Regions from separate parts of the Homo sapiens genome. Here all the other regions are linked to region 1. The links are contacts of gene promoters, found by promoter capture Hi-C in blood cells and fetal thymus (Javierre and others, 2016). All regions are on one chromosome and are shown on one strand. The core of a region is centred on a gene start or on the middle of the fragment in contact, and the rest is flanking DNA. Distances in the headings are between cores, read along the strand shown. Region 1 holds the start of HBS1L (HBS1 like translational GTPase). Region 2 overlaps AHI1 (Abelson helper integration site 1). Region 3 overlaps AHI1 (Abelson helper integration site 1). Region 4 overlaps AHI1 (Abelson helper integration site 1).

What was found. Contacts are between HindIII fragments. The CHiCAGO score rates a contact against its expected background, and 5 or more counts as called.
Region 2: a contact is called between a fragment that was not itself captured here and the fragment with the promoter of HBS1L in region 1, in 3 of 17 cell types (erythroblasts, total CD4 T cells and M2 macrophages). The highest score is 8.2, in erythroblasts.
Region 3: a fragment that was not itself captured here is called in contact with the fragment with the promoter of HBS1L in region 1 in 1 of 17 cell types (fetal thymus); the score reaches 5.7 in fetal thymus.
Region 4: a contact is called between a fragment that was not itself captured here and the fragment with the promoter of HBS1L in region 1, in 1 of 17 cell types (erythroblasts). The highest score is 5.1, in erythroblasts.

The regions. Positions count from the first base shown.
Region 1 is chr6:135,052,934-135,057,878 of GRCh38, forward strand. HBS1L (HBS1 like translational GTPase) reads right to left here and starts at 1,889. Exons shown (of 18, transcript NM_006620.4): 1 at 1,716-1,889. The coding sequence starts at 1,758. LOC124901405 (a long non-coding RNA gene) reads left to right here and starts at 1,960. Exons shown (of 2, transcript XR_007059775.1): 1 at 1,960-2,553. It overlaps LOC124901406 (a long non-coding RNA gene), which reads right to left. Exons shown (of 2, transcript XR_007059776.1): 2 at 4,785-4,945. RefSeq lists an enhancer at 2,048-2,097. The HindIII fragment of the contact is 2,164 bases long and covers 427-2,590 here.
Region 2 is chr6:135,411,109-135,416,816 of GRCh38, forward strand. AHI1 (Abelson helper integration site 1) reads right to left here. Exons shown (of 29, transcript NM_001134831.2): 21 at 240-436. Among named protein-coding and RNA genes, the nearest start is that of AHI1, 84 kb to the right of the region's middle. The HindIII fragment of the contact is 7,802 bases long and covers 1-5,708 here.
Region 3 is chr6:135,492,147-135,497,201 of GRCh38, forward strand. It overlaps AHI1 (Abelson helper integration site 1), which reads right to left. Exons shown (of 29, transcript NM_001134831.2): 2 at 5,042-5,055; 3 at 3,668-3,752; 4 at 82-145. The coding sequence starts at 91. Among named protein-coding and RNA genes, the nearest start is that of AHI1, 3.1 kb to the right of the region's middle. The HindIII fragment of the contact is 5,606 bases long and covers 1-4,882 here.
Region 4 is chr6:135,319,300-135,322,901 of GRCh38, forward strand. The region is part of intron 25 of AHI1 (Abelson helper integration site 1); the gene reads right to left. Among named protein-coding and RNA genes, the nearest start is that of MIR548A2, 82 kb to the left of the region's middle. RefSeq lists an enhancer at 3,547-3,602. The HindIII fragment of the contact is 1,313 bases long and covers 1,544-2,856 here.

The DNA.
Region 1 (4,945 bases), core at 639-3,138:
ATTTTTAAATTATTATTCTGAGAATTCAAGAGAAAGCCTAACTGGGAAGAAGAGAAATAAACTGGACCTTAATGAGTACAACTTTTATAAACAAGAAAAGGGGATGAACCTCCTTAATGTTACAGGAACAGCTTGGTTATGATGTCACCAATTGTTTCAAAGAAGCATGACAACATGACAACCTAACCTCAAGAAGCCAAGGTGCTCCCTGAGGCCAACCACCTCTCCTCCATGAAGCATTCCTTAACGTAGAAATCCTGCTTAAATTCCCCCCAATCCATTCTGAATTAAGTGTTCTCATCTGTGTATCCCTCCCATAGCGTTTTCTCAGTACCTTTTGTAGCATTTTTCATACTCTAATAATCTGTAACTCGTATAATCTTCTCCTTTTAGACCACCCTCAAATATCTTACTTTCAGTCCTCAAAGCTTAGAACAGTACTCTAAGCACTAACTTAATGGTGGTTGAGGAAATGATAAACAACTATTAAAGAAATGAATGAATAATAAATAGGCCTATTCATGTACTTTATATTTGCAAAAATCTCTCTCAATCTAAAGTCATTTCTTAGGTGACAATGGTCCACATGCAATACCATCCACTGCAATATTTATTTAAAAGGGCCTCCATTCTAAAGTAACCACCAGAAAATTCACATGTTCTAGACGGACTGAGGTCACAGGTTCCAAATGGAGAACAGGGTGTTAGCTGCCCTCACTCTAGTTAAAGCATACTGATGTTCTATAATAATCTACTGGGGTGCCAATGACAATCACCAACATATTAAGCACTACATGTTCTGCACTTCGTAAAGCATAGTTCTTTATTCTTCTCCTGCATTAGTTCATTTTTGTTTATATTTTTAGTTTATGTGATGCTTGGTGATGCCTATAGTTATCTACTGCATGAAGAGGGATGTGCTCCTCCTAAAAATAATTCTAACTCCTGTTAACTCCTACAGAACATTCATACAGACATTTTTATTTCATTTTTTAATATCAAAAAGTCCTTTCCTATACACTCTTTCCTCTAGTACTGCCGTTTATTTACATTTCAAAATACATTTATATCAAGCATTACCAGCCAAGAACTAAGTATAAACTTCAAGATCCATCTGATCGACTCATTCTTTGGGCCTTTTTAACATGTGTCTTTTCTACCGTCTCCTAAGTTTCCACTTTGAAATTCGTTGAAAAATAAATTAGCGCAAACTGATTCTGCACTAGGTATGTATGGACATACACAAAAGGTTTACCATGTAAATCTAACACAGGTACACGTCCGTTGAATGTATTAAGTCAATCTGTGTTTTACAAATAAGCAACGTTTCATGGACATTTCTCAAAGGGGATCTGGGAGAGAGGAGCTAGAAGCAGGCACGTTAGTGCCCAACATGGGAGGAAACAATGGAAGAGGTGATAATGCTTACGTGCCTAAATATCACCGGATCTCAACCTCACCAATATCCTACCCATATGACGCTATGCAGCACCTCCCCCTCCCCAAATAAAATCAACCCCAGAGGGCAGAAATCATGACTTAAAAACGACGGCATTTGAAAGCACTAGAAGGCCTGTTATATTCCCCAACTGGGGCTCTCCCAATCCCGACAGGGCAACACTGACGAGAAACTCACAGATTGAAGTGGATGCCAACGGGCTAGGATCCCAGCTGTAGCCGGGAAAAGAACGTCCCGGCATGACCCTGCCACCTACCTTCATCGTAGTTATAGCCTCGAACATTCCGATGCCGGGCCATGACGGCGGAGAGGGCGTTTGCCACAGCCCCTTAACTCCTTCCAAAACACTCCGCTTAGATACTGATAAGGCGCCAACTGCAGCCTGGAGAACCCCTATGCGCCATCTTGGCTTCCCGCAGGCCTCTGCGCCGAGCGCCTGCGCAAGCGCGACGTCTTAGCTGTGCACCGCGCGACGGCAATGCCTCAGGGTCACTGTCCGCCTCCCTGAGGGCGCATGCGCACTGCTGTGCATGGCGGGACGAGGGGAGGGAGCGTTTGGGAGTGGCCCCACCCAAAGGTTGGGCGACGGAGGGGGATGGGGAAATCCGCCGCCTAGAATTGACTGGTTTGGACTAAATGTTGCAAGCGGGGAACCTTGAGCTACCTACGCCAGCGTTCTGGATTATTTTCCAAATTTGGTTCCTGATAATCTGAGAAAGCTATGCGCTCAGTAAGAGCAGGGACCTTGTTTTATCAAACTTTGATCTTTCATTAAGCACACAGTGGGCATTCAACAAACTTGTGTAAACTTGGAATCAGATTTAGCCCAGGCCGGTGCGGTGGCTCCTTCCTGTAATCCCAGCACTTTGGGAAGCCTAGGAGGGCGGATCGCTTGAACTCAGGTGTTCGAGACCAGCCTGAGCAACATAGCGAGGCTCCGTCTCTACAAAAAATACAAACACTAGCCGGCCCTGTGGTGCAGACCTGTAGTCCCAGCTACTGAAGAGGCTGAGGTGGGAGGATCCCCTGAGCCCAGGCGGTCGAGGCTGCAGTGAGCTGAGATCGGGCCTCTCCATTCCAGCCCGGGCGACAAAGTGAGTGAGACCTTATCTCAAAAAAAAAAAGAGTCCAAGCTTTAGAGAAGGAAATAAGGCTATTTTTAAACGGGTATATATTATTAAATTGAGACCCTGGCTATATTAGGTCACCCTGCATTCATATAATTTACGACTTCATGTATTCACTCCGTTCGGCATTACTATCCCTAGTAAACAGCGATTTGCCCTTAGCTATGTAAACGATTTTAGCTATATAGACGATATTTATCAGCATCATAAAGAAGGATTCACTGAACATTCATTGAAGACATAATTGTGTGTAACATTGCGAGTATTAAATATAGCTTTTTAGACATAGCACTGGCCTTAGGTGGTAATGCTGAATGTTGTTGATGCATGAATCTATAACCTGCTATTAAATGTCCTCATTTCTCAGAACATAAAGTTAATAATGCTATATAAGAAACCAACCTCATTATACTGAACACCACTTCAGTTTTAGCTTGTGTTTTTGAAATGATGATACTTCACATCAAAGGCAAATGTTGAGTTCTAGAGATAATTAAAAGCTTCCTCAGCTTTTTGCTATGCACAATAGAAAGAAATAAGAGTAATCCAAATTTAGTTTATATTTGTAAGTGGCTTGGAACGTAATTTATTCATGCATTTGAATGTGTTTGACTACAAAAATAGTTGTTTAATGTGGCTCCAAAATAAAAGTTTACAGAAAAATAGAGATAGTTGCTAATGTTACATGGCTTAAGTGTTTTTATTATTTTACACCCTTAGGTAATTTTTATTTTGCAGCCTGTTTCTTTGTAAAAAGGAGATAGAGACACTAACTCGCGAGCTGTGAATAATGTATCCGTATAAGAGGATTTATCACAGATCATAGTAGGTGCTTAAAAATATTGTGTTATTGGCCGGGCGCGGTGGCTGACTCCTGTGATCCCAACACTTTGGGAGGCTGAAGCAGGCGGATCATGAGGTCAAGAGATCAAGACCATTCTGGCCAACATGGTGAAACTCCCTGTCTACTAAAAATACAAAAATTAGCTAGGCATGGTGGCGCGTGCCTATAGTCCTAGCTACTCGGGAGGCTGAGGCAGGAGAATCGCTTGAACCCGGGAGGCAGAGGTTGCAGTGAGCTAAGATTGTGCCACTGCACTCCAGCCTGGAGACAGAGTGAGACTCTGCACCCCCCCAAAAAAATTGTGTTATTAAAATACAAATGGCAGCTTCCACTCCACTGTAATTGTCAATTACAAGCTTAACTACAACTCACTGAGGTATGAAGTGAATGAGTTATAGACCACATAAGCAAAGTACTACAGGAACAATGAATAAGAAAACGTTACTTCTGTCAGATAATATATAATTTGCCCTTAGGTCGTCAATAACGCACTCCTTTAAAACTCTAAATATTGCACAGCATCTACTGCATCTCAAACAGTAGAGCCTCAATGGCAAAGCCTTCACTGACTTCTTCAGAAAAAGTTAGGATTGTTCCACTCCCCTCAGGACTCTGTAAGGTGTGGGCAGGGCACCGTGGCTCACGCCTGTAATCCCAGCACTTTGGGACGCTGAGGCGGGTGGATCACCTGAGGTCAAGAGTTCCAGACCAGCCTGGCCACCATGGTGAAACCCCCATCTTCCACTAAAAATAAAAAAAAATTAGCTGTGCGTGGTGGTGGGTGACTGTAATCCCAGCTACTCGGGAGGCTGAGGCAGGAGAATCGCTTGAACCCAGGAGGCAGGAGTTGCAGTGAGCTGAGATCGTGCCACTGCACTCCAGCCTGGACAACAAGGGCAAAACTCCGACTCAAAAAATAAATGAATAAAACTCTGGTATTGTGTTTTGATGGAAAGTACTATGACTTCGGAGTACCACGAACCTGGATTTCAGTCCCAGTTTTGTTGCTGTTAACCACTTCAGATTTAATGTCTTCATCTGTAAAATCGAATATATGAAAATGTATGTCTTCTGTTTTGTGAAAAGTAAATGATATATGTAAAAACAGTAGGTGTTGCAGAATGGGTACTCAGTAAATGCCACTTCTCTACCCCTACTAATTTCAAAGCTTTATCTTTGTTTCTCCGGCACCCTAATGTCTGGCACTTTAAATGTTTGCTGAATGAATTAATGAGTAAAAGAAGAGAAATAAAATGACATTTCTCTTGCTATGGAATTGTTAATGTCATAAAAAACAATACAAATCATTTTATATTGATTTGTGAAAAAAATTATGAATGAAAGGATAACTACATTACTGAAAAAATGTTAACAACTTTATTGAGATATCATTGACAATAAACTGCACATAATGTGTAATTTTGATACATTTTGACGTATGTATACACCAGTGAAGCCATCAACCCCATCAAGATAATGAACATATCCAGACTTTCAAAATTTTCCTGAAGTACC
Region 2 (5,708 bases), core at 2,202-4,701, 360 kb after region 1:
GGTGCTGGGCTAGCCTTTACAGAGATATCAAGTCAGAACAGCATGATAGATTATCCTAAATTCAGGTTGTCTGTTGCAATTAAGGTTTTAGGAATAAGTACCTGAAAGGAACCATAAAAGTATAGGAAGGTCTAATTTTAAGTAATTAACTTACTTCATTAAATGAATATTTATTGGCATGGCAATGTAAAACAGGATAGAAATAGTTTTAAAGTTTCAACTGCATAAAATAAACTTACTGTGACAGTTTCAAGCCTCTGTTTTACTAGCTGCATCTTCGTTGAAGAACTTTCAGTGTGGACAAATTCATCAATCTGAAAAGAGCCTTGATGGGGTAGTTTTGGACAGGTACATAGGGCATCTTGACTTTGGTGTATTCCAGGTAATGGAAATGTTCCATTGTAGCGTTTGAACATTTCAGCCTCCTGCTGGGCAACTGAAGAAATGAATCCATAATTAGTTAAATCATCATAGCAAAAGCATAATCAAGCCCTAAAACTGTAGCATTCAACAAATAATCAGAAACTGCATAACACATCTTAAAAACTGGGTAATAATAAGACACCATAACTAGCAAAATTTGAAATTATTCAATGCTATAAAATCATAAGGAAGCAAATAGAATTTCATGTCAGGCAGCATTATAATTGAGCTGTGAAGGCCATGTAAACTGGGATGGGAGACTAACTTTAAATATATGTATATAGAAAAATAATACTAAAAAATCAAAGGCATAACAGAATTAAGGGAAATGCTAAAATAATATTTATTCACAAGCCTCTCTAAAACAACTATTTTCATATTTCTGTACCCTTCTTAATTTTTACACACACATTCTATATATCATAATGTAAATACAATTTAACATTTCTCAATTTAAATGCAAGTATTTCTTACATTTCTACAATGACGTAATTATAATTATTAAATGTTTTACAGTATCTCATTTAATGAAGCACCGTAATTTTTTTTTTACACATTCTCTTATACTGAATACAGTTGGTCCACTGTATCTGTGGCTTCCCTATCCATGAATTCAACCAACTATGGATAAAAAATATTCAGAAAAAAATAACAATACTATAAAAAATACAGTATGATAACTATTTACATAGCATTTATACTATATTAGGTATTGTAAGTAATCTACAGATGATTCCAAGTATGAGAGAAGATGTCCACAGATTATATGCAAAAACTATGACATTTTATGTAAGTGACTTTAGCATCCATAGATTTTTGGTATCCCCAGGGGTTCTGGAACCAGTCCTCTATAGATAACAAGAGATAACTCTATTTATAGTGTTCTCTGTTCTCCCTTATAGATCATGCAAGAATAATTACTTTCATAGCTAACTTTGTTTCTTAACATCATTCTTATTTTGGATTTAATTCTCTAGAGTGACGAAGATGGCTCAAAGGGTGAATGTTCTGATGATGACTGATCATGATGATGATGATAATGAGCATGGTAGCATCTGTGCTGCACTTTGTATTTTTTGGGGTGCTATCACATACATTACCTCATTTGATCATTTAAAACACATGAACTTGAAAAATATTAAATGTCTGTCTATATATACAAAGGAGAAAAAATATATAAACTCATCATTTAAAAAAGTATTTCCTTAGTTACATAATCTTGAAATGGAAAGCCTTCCTAAACATGACATGAAAGAAATAAATCTCAAAACAGGGATTCATAATATGGAATCAATGGATAAACCTTCAGGGAGTCTATGGACTACTGAAATTACTATGGAAATGTGAGTGTGTTTATATAAGCATTTCTGGAAAGCAGATTCATAATTTTTATCAGGTTATCCATCGAAGGATTACATGAGTCAGAAAAGGTTAATAATTGTCAACATTCTTATGGACCAATGAACAGATTTTGTAACATGAACATTTAAAGAGTCTTCATTAAAATAAAAAAACTTGCCAGGCACAGTGTCTCATGCCTTAATCCTGGCACTCTGGGAGGCTGAGGTGGGAGGATCACTTGAGCCTAGGAGTTTGAGACCAGCCCTGGCAAGATAATGAGACCCTGTCTCTATAAAAAATTGAAAAATTAACCGGGCAGGGTACCATGTGCCTGTAGTTTCCAGCTACTGAGGAGGCTGAGGTGGGTGGGAGGATTGCTTGAGACTGGAGGTCGAGGCTGCCACTGCATTCCAGTGAAGACTGGATGACAGAGCTAATGTGATTTTTAAATCATATTTAAGACTTAAATATATAAATAAACTACCACAACAAAAATTAAAAAGGAAATGATGTAATAGGGTTCTTCCATTTCTGACCAAAATGGAGTAGGGACTAGATTTACTCTGCTGCTTGAAACTACCAAAAAATGGACAAACTGTATAAAAGAAAAAAAAAAAACTGTCTTTGCAGACATGATTGTCTAGGTAGAGCTAAAGTGGAGTAAGGCAAGTGAGGCACACAGGCAGCAAAATTTAAGGAGGTTCTCACTCTGAGGTCCTGGCTCCATATCTGTGTAAAAATTCTAAATGGAATCTAAAAAAATAAGGCACTAGAATTGACTTTAGCAATGTTGTAGGATTGAGATCAAAACACAAAAATCATCTATATGTCTATATACAAGCAATTAAGAACCAAAAATTGAAATTAAAAAAAAAAATGCCATTTACTATGGCATAAAAAAAGTGACATACTTTGGGGAAAAAAAGGAGAAAGATGTGAAAGACCTGTATACTGAAAACTAAAAATACTGCTGAGAGAAACTGACAAAGCAATTTGTCATTGTGTTCATGGGGTGGCATACTCAATATTGGTAAGATGTAAATTCTCCCCAAATGATCTGTAGATTCAATGCAGTCCCACTCAAAATTCCAGCAGGTTATTTTTGGAGAAATTGTAAAATAAATTCTAAAATCGACATGGAAATGAATATTACCTAGAACAGCCAAAACAACTTTGAAAAAGAAAAGAATACCTGACTTCAAATCCTATAAAGCTACAGTAATCCACACAGTTTGCTACTGGCATAAAGATAAATAAACAGATCAACAGAATAGTATAGAGTGCCCAGGGTGTATAGACAAAGTATAAAGGCCATTCAGTGGAGAAAAGACAGTTTTTTCCAACAAATGGTGTTAGAATAGTTGGATATTCATATGTGAAAAAAATGAACTTTGATCCATACTTTACAACATGTACAAAAGTAACTCAAAATGAACCACAGATCTAAATGTAAAACCCAAAGCTGTAAGACTTCTAGAAAAAAACAGAGAACACCTTTGTGAGCTTGGGTTAGGCAAAGATTTCTTAGACACAACACTAAAATGCATAAAAGAACAAGCTGATAATTTGAACTTCATCAAAATCTCAAACTTCTGTTCTTTAAACTGTTAAGACAATTAGAAAACAAACCAGACTGGGGGGAAATACCTGCAAATCATATGCCTGATAAAATACTTGTATACACAAAACACAAAGAAATCTCAAAACTCAATAATCAGAAAACAAATAGGACAATTTAAAAAATGGAGAAAAGATTTGAAAAGACAATTTACTGAAGAAGCTATATGGATGACAAATAAGCATGCAAAAAAAGGTGCTCAGTATCATTAGTCATTAGGGAAAAGCAAATTAAAACCACAATAAAATAGCACTGCATGTATATTAGAATGGCTAATATTCAAAAGATTGGCCATTTCTTTTTTTAAATTTTTTTATTTATTTTTATTTTATTATTATTATACTTTAAGTTTTAGGGTACATGTGCACAATGTACAGGTTAGTTACATATGTATACATGTGCCAGGCTGGTGTGCTGCACCCATTAACTCGTCATTTAGCATTAGGTATATCCCTAATGCTATCCCTCCCCCCTCCCCCCACCCCACAACAGGCCCCAGAGTGTGATGTTCCCCTTCCTGTGTCCATGTGTTCTCACTGTTCAATTCCCATCTATGAGTGAGAACATGTGGTGTTTGGTTTTTTGTCCTTGCGATAGTTTGCTGAGAATAATGATTTCCAATCTCATCCATGTCCCTACAAAGAACATGAACTCATCATTTTTTATGGCTTCATAGTATTCCATGGTGTATATGTGCCACATTTTCTTAATCCAGTCTATCATTGTTGGACATTTGGGTTGGTTCCAAGTCTTTCCTATTGTGAATAGTGCCGCAATAAACATATGTGTGCATGTGTCTTTATAGCAGCATGATTTATAGTCCTTTGGGTATATACCCAGTAATGGGATGGCTGTGTCAAATGGTATTTCTAGTTCTAGATCCCTGAGGAATTGCCACACTGACTTCCACAATGGTTGAACTAGTTTACAGTCCCACCAACAGTGTAAAAGTGTTCCTATTTCTCCACATCCTCTCCAGCACCTGTTGTTTCCTGACTTTTTAATGATTGCCAAGATTGGCCATTTCAAAGTTGGCAAGTACACTGATATACTAATGGTGGGAATGTTAAATGTTAAACGGCACAATCACTTTAAAAAATAGTCTGGCAGCTTCTTAAGAAGTCAAACATACATCTGCAATATGATCCAGCCCTTCTGCTCCTAGAAATTTGTCAAAGAGAAATGAAGCATATGTCCATACAAAGACTTGTATGTGAATATTTGGAGCAGCTTTATTTGTAATAGCTAAAACCTGGTTACAACCCCAATGTCCATTGACAGGTGAATGGATAAACAAACTGTGGCATAGCCATACAATTAAACAACACCCAACAATATAAAGAATAAACTACTGATAAATGCTAAAACACAGATTTATCAAAGTAATTATAAGTGAAAGGAGCCAGATAAAAAAAGAGTACATGGTATATACAGTTTCACTTATATACAATTCTGGAAAATGCAAACTAATTTATAGTGGTTGCCTGGGATAAGGGTGAGGAAGGAACAGAACACAAAAGGGCACAAAGTAACTTTTGGGGATGAAATATGTTCATTATCTTGATTGAGGCAATAGTCTCCCAGGTTTATAAATGCCCAAACTTATCAGATAGTACATTTAAATAGTTCAGTTTATAATATGTCAATTATACCTCAATAAAGCCATTCACCAAAAAAAGCAAATGACAAAATTGTAATGAAAGGGGTAATTAATCTTACTATGCAGAGTTCCCATGAAATCCATTAAAAATTAATAATCGAACAGAAAAATGGGCAAAGAACCATTAAAGAAAATTCACAAAAGAACTGTGTCCAATAAAAATATATTTAACTTCACTAAAAATTAATTAGTAATAAAAATGCAAATTAGAAAGTGCCTTTTTTTTTTGCCTGTTTAACTGACCCATTGTACCTCAAGACATTATTTCCTGAGGAATGTAAGGGTAGTTAGTGTGTACTGAAGCACTATCTAAATGTTGAAAAAGATATAACAGTATAATTGTGCAACAACAGTTGTTTAAACTACGGTGTATTCATTTAATGAAAGGGAATTTAGCCACTAAAATTATGTATAGAAATGTAATTATCACAATGGAAAATTGCTCATATTATTCATTGGAAAAAATAATTTATAAAACAATATAGACAGTATATACAAAAGGACGACCACTTTTTCAAGTTATAGGCCTTGGTTTCATGAACTATGAGTCTGAGATGATGCATATAAACAATATTAGGTATTTGATCTTTATATTCATGTACTATTTCATTCAGGCACTCTAAATGAAGACCAGCTCAATAATAATTGGTGTTCTCTCCCTGCTAG
Region 3 (5,055 bases), core at 830-3,329, 440 kb after region 1:
AAGAATCCCTTAAAATAAACCAAACTTAAAAGTAAATGTATAAAATATAAATTTTATACATAAATTTCATAGAAGTCTTACCTGTAGGCATCTCTCAGCTTTATGCAGAGGACTGAGAATGCAAAGCATTGACTCAATCAGGATCCTATCGAAACAAAGGAGATGTATTTGTAATATGGAACTTCCAAATAAAAATTATAAAACGTTCTTCACACAAGATCATGCCATTGTATGTCCACTACTTCATTAAGTTTATACCAATAAAGCTATGTTCCCTTAACCCAATCTTATGCAAATGACTTGGGTACATTTGAATCAGTTTAGGGCTCTAAAATCAAGGGAAACAAACTAGATCATATCTGAATAAAGTATTTATATATTTGAAACAAAAAAAACATTTTGAAGGCAGTGCACATCTAATGTGGTATGTTAATAAACTTTTTAAAGTGTTTTAATACATTAATGAACATTTCAACGCACTTTTAAGAAACCAAACTCCATCTCAGGATTGACTTTCCTAAGAGCATTCAATATTACATTAAAGCATGCTTGTGGGTAGCACACTCACAGTGAATTTAAATACCTCTGTGTCTGCCACTGAAAATTCTGCTACAATAGAGAAGGATAGTACAAATATTTGCACCATCTTTCTTTAATAAAACCTGGATGTGTATTACTGTGTCAGAACTACTCAAAACCATGGTTCAACTCAGTATGTATATTACTAAATTGCCCATTTTATTAAAAAAATCGGTGTATGTCTAAAATGAACATATTCTCACATTAGAACATTTAGAATGTAATATGCATGTTTTTGAGACTAAAACTGAAGAGTGTTAAAAAAAAAGCTGGTTCAGGAATTATTGATTTGTTTGTTTTTGAGATGGAGTCTCCCTTTGTCGAGTGCAGTGGTGTGATCTCGGCTCACTGCAACCTCCGCCTCCCAGGTTCAAGCGATTCTCCTGCCTCAGCCTCCCGAGTGGCTGGGATTACAGGTGTGCGCCACCACACCCAGCTAATTTTTGTATTTTTAGTAGAGACAGGGTTTCATCATGTTGGCCAGGCTGGTCTTGAACTCCTGACCTCATATGATCTGCCCGACTCAGCCTCCCAAAGTGTTGGGATTACAGGCGTGAGCCACCACACTGGGCCCAAGGCATTATTGGTTAATGCTCCAATTCCCTGGACATCCACATTCATGTTCCTCTTGCAGAAATGTCTAAGAAATTCTAAAAAGAAAGGAATGATTATGTAAACATACCTAACTATGTCAGTTAACTTAGGCAACAACTACGTGGCACCCAGTCAAAACAGACATCACTAAATCCATGGAGTAAAAATTCCTATACTTTAGTGATAGGAGCCTGTATTTACTCCTTCTAGCAGTTATAAATTTAATAAATCTAGTCTTCTACTTTCTAGTCTATATTAAATTAGAAAAGAGAAGCTGCAAAGGCAAGTGCAATGACAGCATGAGTAATTGAAACCTGAGAGCACGGAAGTAGAAAAATCATAAAACAAATAAAAATTTAATATTTATACTACTCGATGGTCATCTAATAGGCCAGGAAAAAGCTGACCTATATTATGACTATGATTCATCAAAAAAAAGCCTGCTGGGCGCCGTGGCTCATGTCTGTAATCCCAATACTTGGGAAGGATAAGGCGGGTGGATCACTTGAGGTCAGGAGTTTGTGTCCTGTCTGGCCAACATGGTAAAACCCCATCTCTACCAAAAATACAAAACTTAGTCAGGCGTGGTGGTGGGTGCCTGTAATCCCAGCTACTGGGGAGGCTGAGGCAGGAAAATCGCTTGAACCTGAAATGTGGAGGTTGCAGGGAGCCAAGACTGCACCAGTGCGCTCCAGGTGATGGAGTGAGGTAATATTTTAGAAAGATTAAATAACTAATGAAGAGGCAGGAGAAAGAATCGGAGATAATTCCCATGTTTCTAGAACTAGAATAAGTAGATTAGTAGTATCATTACACTGTAATATAATGCAGTACAGGGCAGTAGTTTAAAATCCATGTCCTAGAATTAGTTTCCATAGTCACTTGCGTGACTTTTGTTTCCTCATCTATAAAAACACCCTACCAGTGCCGACTCAAAGGGTTGTTGTAAGGGTTAAATGATTTAGAACAGTACCGTAGACAGAAGAAGCAACAATAAATGTTAGCTATAACTGTAACAGGTTGTTAGGGTGCAGTCACTGAGCTTAGTATGGGTCATGTTGAGTTGGGTATCTGAAGGGCACTGAGCAGCTACAAGCATCAGCTCCATTTTCAGATCCTTGGATCCAAATACCAGTTCTATCTGCCAGCAGATTCACCTCTATGGATATCAACTTCCTAATCTTTCACAATAATAAGAGTAAATCACTCACAGTGTTTTTATAAAGATTAAATGAGAATATGCAAATAAAATACTAGGCACAATGCCTAGCACATGGCAAGCCCTTCAAAAACAACAACTGTTATTACTGTCACGTGTGTGTGTGTTTACGTATATAATCATATTATGTTTGTTAGGCAATCTACTAATCCAGCAGGGAGACAATAGGCTGAAGATTTGGGAGTTATTTATAAATATGATAGTTCCAAGAAAATAAAAAGCCAATGAGAATCCTGTGAGCCTACAATATAAAGTAAAATCAGGGAGATAGGTGAAAAACTGGGAGATAGAAGCATTACAGAAGCAAACCCAAGTTTTAAAGGAGATGTTGCCTATATACTGTGTGGCATCAAAAGGGGCTGGAGGTTTTGAAGAAAGTCCACTGAATCTGCAAGTAGGAAGTCACGTGTGTCAAAGCTGTTTATAGAGGGGCAGAAACTTAGCAGGCTGGGGCTAAGGAATGAATGGAAGGTGACACCTGTAGAAGGGACATGTAGACAATTCTTTACAGAATTCTTCCAACTGTCTTCCCATCACCCCCAAAGGCAGTGACATGAGACAGTAACTCTGAGGGACAAAAACACTGTGGAAGGATTATGCTTTTTGTTTTAAGATTGTTTCCACGCCGCTATCACCTTTCCCTTAAAAAAAAAATCATCATCTACACAGCAACTAGTGTAATTTTCTAAAATTCAAATGTGATGGTGTCGTTTCTTCGCTTAAAATTCTTCACTAGCTCCCAATCGCACATTGAAAAAAATATCAAGTCCTTACCAGTGAGGTCCAAGGCCATTTATGAAATGTCCCCTTCACACATCCACTGTGTTCCAGACATGTGAAACTACCTGCAGGCCTTCACGTGTGCCAAGTTCTCTCTTGCTTTTGTATCATTACACACATATCCCCTCCCCTGAAAAATGTGCTTCCTCCTTTGTCTCTCTAACAAACTCCTCACTATCCTTTAAAGGCAAATGATATCTTCTCTAGAGAGCATTCTCACCTTGAAGGGCATTTAAGAACTTCTCTTCTGTGCTTCCAGGGTGCCTTAATCTTTGTAGCTCCCTCTACCTCAACCTTGAATTTTCACCCTGGTAAAATGTTCTGTAACTCCCACCAAACTGCTAGCTTTGGAGGACCAAGCCAATGCTCTCTTATAGTTATGTATCTGCCACTATGAAAGAAAAGAGAGGAGAAGAAGAGAGAAGCGAAGTGAAGAGAAGCAAAAGCAAAGCGAGTAAAAAAGACTCAGGCTTGAGCTCTAGTGTCACCACTTACTGATGTGTGGCCTTGGGCAAGCTACTTAATTTCTAATCCTTGGTTTTTCCTTGTCTGGGAATTTAAAATGGCACCTATTTTAGTACTGTAAGGAGAAGAGAAAATACCAAAAAGCAAAGTAATCAGTACATTGCAATAAAATTACTTTATGTCCATTATTATTGTATTAAAAATAAGTAAATAATTACAAATAAAATATATAAATCATATACTTATTTACTATTAACAGCTTAATACACAACTAAACTAATAAATACTAATATTATGTAATGATAACACAGCAAATACAGTACAGAAATCATCTCTAATTTTTTTTTTTTGGAGACAGAGTCTCGCTCTGTTGCCCAGGTTGGAGTGCAGTGGCACAATCTCAGCTCACTGCTGCCTCCGCCTCCTGGGTTCAAGCAATTCACCTGCCTCAGCCTCCCTGGTAGCTGGGACTACAGGTGTGGGCCATCACACCCAGCTAATTTTTGTATTTTTAGTAGAGATGGGGTTTCACCAACATTGGCCAGGCTGATACTGAACTCCTGACCTCAAGTGATCCACCCACTTTAGCCTCCCAAAGTGCTAGGATTACAGGCGTGACCCACTGCGCTCAGCCATCTCTAAATCTTAATATGTACTACAGCAAACATGATAGAATTAACGGCTAATATTTGATTAGTAACCTCTGCAAAAAATCAGATAGGACTTTAAAAGACACCTCTGATTCTTATATATTCCATTATTTTACAACTTCTCCCTCACAAACCCTTTCACAGGAGCGTCTAAGAGATATTACACAGGAAAATTAAATGGATTACATTTCATCTCATTTTATTTTACAGACAACCTGATTATCAGCCAATATGTGGCTCAATATCATTGGGAGAAAAAACTGAGAGGCTTGATAATTCGCTCCTTAACCAAATGTTATCGCAAGGGAAAAAAAGACAAACAAAAATCCTGTATACAAAATTCAATGAATAAATCAACAAGATTCTTCATAAGTAAACAAGATTCTAACTTCATAAATATTATTCCTCATAAACAAGATTCTAGGTATGGTTTAAAAACACTTTTGGTATTTGAATTTCTTTCAAGCATTCTTTAAAAAATTTCCCAGAGTACTCATAAGAAGCAATCTTCCTCCTAACGCCCAAGCAGTAACAGCAACTGTTAATGCAACAGGTGAAAAAATCGTTGGCATCTCTTTCTCAAAAGAAAGGGGAAAGCTTTATTTTCACAATAGATGTTTTTACAGGAATGCTAAACGCAGCACAACCTTTGATAAGGATTCTTAAATGGTCTACATTTTTGTTCTATTTTTATGCATCTCGAAACAACCCTATTAATATAATTTGGCTCTTATAAATATAACAAATTGATCACCTTTTCTCAGACAT
Region 4 (3,602 bases), core at 950-3,449, 270 kb after region 1:
ACCCCATCCCTACCCAAAAATATAATAATTAGCTGGGCATGGTGGCGTGCACCTGTAGTCCCAGCTTTGGGAGGCTGAGGCATGGGAATTGTTTGAACCTGAGAGGTGGAGGTTGCAGTGAGCCAAGACAGCGCCACTGCACTCCAGCCTGGGAGACAGGGCGAGACTCTGTCTCAAAAAAAAGGAAATGATAATTTGGGAAGACGATATGAAATCAATAAGCATGGAGTTAGGACTATATATGATATTGAATCTATATACAGTGTTGAATTTAAGATTCTTACAATCCAATATTCTATATAATCTATTGAATCTACATAGGGTATTGAATCTAAAGAGCTATGTGCAAATTTTAAAGGGTTAAAACAAAAATATATTTTGGTTAAGAACATCTCTGAACTGAAAGAAATTGCTGAGATATACTTGATCAAAATTGTACAACTAAGATTATGAGATATACTAATTGTCTTTGTATGTGGAGTGATTTTATTATTGGGTTTATCTCATATTTTGAGGGTGTTAGATGTGATGGGGGAAGCTGATCATGTTGTTCTTTACAGTGCCTTAAGATACAAAGAGAGTAAGTTCCTTGTAACAGTGGGAGTACGAACTTCTTTTATTGTGTTGTTCTCTTAGAGGACAGGCTCTCTTAGAGTATCTGCTTGTATACTTCCTTAGATTCTGCTCTTATACTCCCTTAGATAATTCACTTTGCATAGTTGGCTTCAGATAAAGATCAAGGACAATTCTTCCTACTATTTTTAGACTAGAATATGCTACTGACAGTCATTTTTTTCTCTAATGTTAAAACTGGGCAATTGAGTTTTTTGTTAAATTCAGGTAAAAAAAGGATAAAAGGGAAAGGGAAATAACCCCTAATGAAGTGTGAGAGTTCAATCATTACAGTCGCAGATTTTTCTAAGTTTTTTTTTTTTGTTTGTTCTGGTCTATACAAGGCTTTTTAAAGCAGTGACTGATGCCAAAAGAAAACATAAATTATTCTGGGATACAATAAGGAATTATGGCAGTTGAAAGATGGTCATCATTGAGACAAAGAATTTATTTCTGTACGTAGCCATCAACTCATCACTGCAATATGCTTCAGAGGTCTGGCTTTGATCATCATGGAAGAAGAACAAATTTTATTAGCTTTTAAAAAAAATTTATCTTTTGTGGAGATGGAGTCTTGTTATATTGCCCAGGCTGGTCTCAAACTCTTGGCGTCAAGTGATCCTCCCTCTTCAGCCTCCTGAAGTGTTGGGATTACAGGTATGAGCTGCTGCATCTGGCCTCATTAGCTTTTTAATTCACTGTAGCTCAAATATCTATATCCTCTCAAGATCTGCAAGCCTAAGAGGTTATTTTTGTAAACTACATTCTCAAATTAAAGCACTTAATCCCACCCTGCCTAGAGATACACAAGGGAGAAAATTTAAAAAATATTTCCATTTGTACATGAAAAGAGTAATGGATTGTAATATTTCGTTAAAATGAGGCATACTCCAGAGTGACTACCATTGTGCCAGCAGCTCTTGATTTAAAAAGCTTGATTTAAACAGAAGCTACTCCTGTTTAACCTCAGCTGTTGACCCTGTGGGAGACCCAACAATGAGAAGAAGGAACTTGGCTATTTTAGATGATCTGGAAGTTAGAAGTGCTGAGCTTATGGAACTTATATGCTGTCTTATACCTACATGGGAATTAACTTGCCCTAAAATTTCTTCCTTTCATACGGCCTATGTTTTTTCCATTACACAACCTCTTCTAAACACAAAAATATACCTCTAACAGAGTTTAAGAGTTATGTGTCAAAATCAGCTGGGCATGGTAGCATGCCCCTGTAGTTCCAGCTACTCAGGAGGCTGAGATGGGAGGACTGCTTGAGCCCGGGAGGTCAAGGCTTTAGTGAGCCGTGACTGCATCACTGCACTCTAGCCTGGGTGACAAAGTGAGGCCCCGTCTCAGAAAAAAAAGAAAGAAAGAAAAAAAAAGTTATATGTCATTCACTACTTACAAGAAGGTAACTAAAACAGCTACACAGAAGACATTAAGAATTTTATGAGAGTGAGAAGTGGTACAATTTTTGAGACACATAGAACTTTTTAGGGGAGGAGTCTGCTGACTGTGGCAGATAAACTGAAGAAGGGAGCTGCAATGGGACTTAGGGCACTTGAGAGACTGGGGAGGGGAGCAATGGGAAGGACCTGGCTGAAGACAAGGTCGTGGGAAGGTGCCAAAGACAGATAATTTTATCTAGGCTTAGCCCAGCATCCGGTAATCACGAAGGAAATTCTTCCATTCCTTCATCTCTTTGGCTGTCAAAATTGAAAACTTAGGTTAGAATCAATAATATTTTTGTTTAGTCGTAGTTTTGGGTTAAACAGTTTCATGGACTAGCCTGAAAACCAATTATTATTTATAATAATTATTTCTTTGCAGAAACAAAAGACTTAAATATTCAAAACACAGATTGTTCTCAATTTCAAGGCTGCCTATACTACAACTTTTTTTTCTTTTTTTTGAGACAGAGTTTTGCTCTGTTGCTGGGCTGGAGTGCAGTGGCACGATCTTGGCTCACTGCAACCTCTGCCTCCCGGGTTCACGCGATTCTCCCGCCTCAGCCTCCCAAGTAGCTGGGATTATAGGTGCCCACCACCACGCCTGGCTCATTTTTTGTATTGTTAGTAGAGACAAGGTTTTGCCATGTTGGCCAGGCTGGTCTCGAACTCCTGACCTAAAGTGATCTGCCTGCCTCGGCCTCCCAAAGTGCTGGGATTACAGGCGTGAGCCACAGTGCCTGGCCCGCCTATACTACATTTTGAATCAGAACCAGAATTTTTGTGCTTACAGAAGAAAAGCTTACAGATAATATCATTTAATTCCTTCATTTTACAGAAGGTAACTGGGGCGTATGAGTGTAAGATGTTGAGCTGAGGTTAGAAGTCAGTTTTCCTGACCCCTGAGTGTTGTGCTTTTCCTAGCATGCTATCAAGTTAATTGTGGATAGAATGCATTCTTCTCAAGAAGCACTACTGTACTTCTCCCCTTTAATGACAGTTTTAAGTTATTATTATTTTTGTTTTCAGGCTCTCTGCGTTCGTTCTGTTTTCACCTCTCAAGGCCTAGTGGTGAATCTACAGCTTTCAGAAACTCATATTTAGATTTTCTTCCCTAGCTCTTTTTTTTTTCATTTTAAGCTATTATTTAATGAACAAAAACCATTATTAAAACACGAAGTAGAAATTAAAATACAAGAAAGGTTCATACAGTCTTGTCACATCACATGGTAAGTTCTAGGCTTTGTCAACACGTGCACATAACTTTTAAATAATTGTCATTTATCAACTTTGTGCTTACATATTTTCAGCTCTGGCTCATTTTTTCCCCCATAAATGAGGGCTAAATTTACTTGAGAATGAAACAACTTATTGTAGTTTTGTTTTCACAGGTAACCAGATAGGACTGAGGTATACAAAGTAAAAGAATGCAGTTGGGGAACTAGAAGCTCTTAAGATGCCAGTCAGCTGAGGAGGCACTGTGGCTAGAGAAGAACTGACAGAACTGTGCATGAGGCAGGTGGCAGGGTCAAATGAGTTGAATAA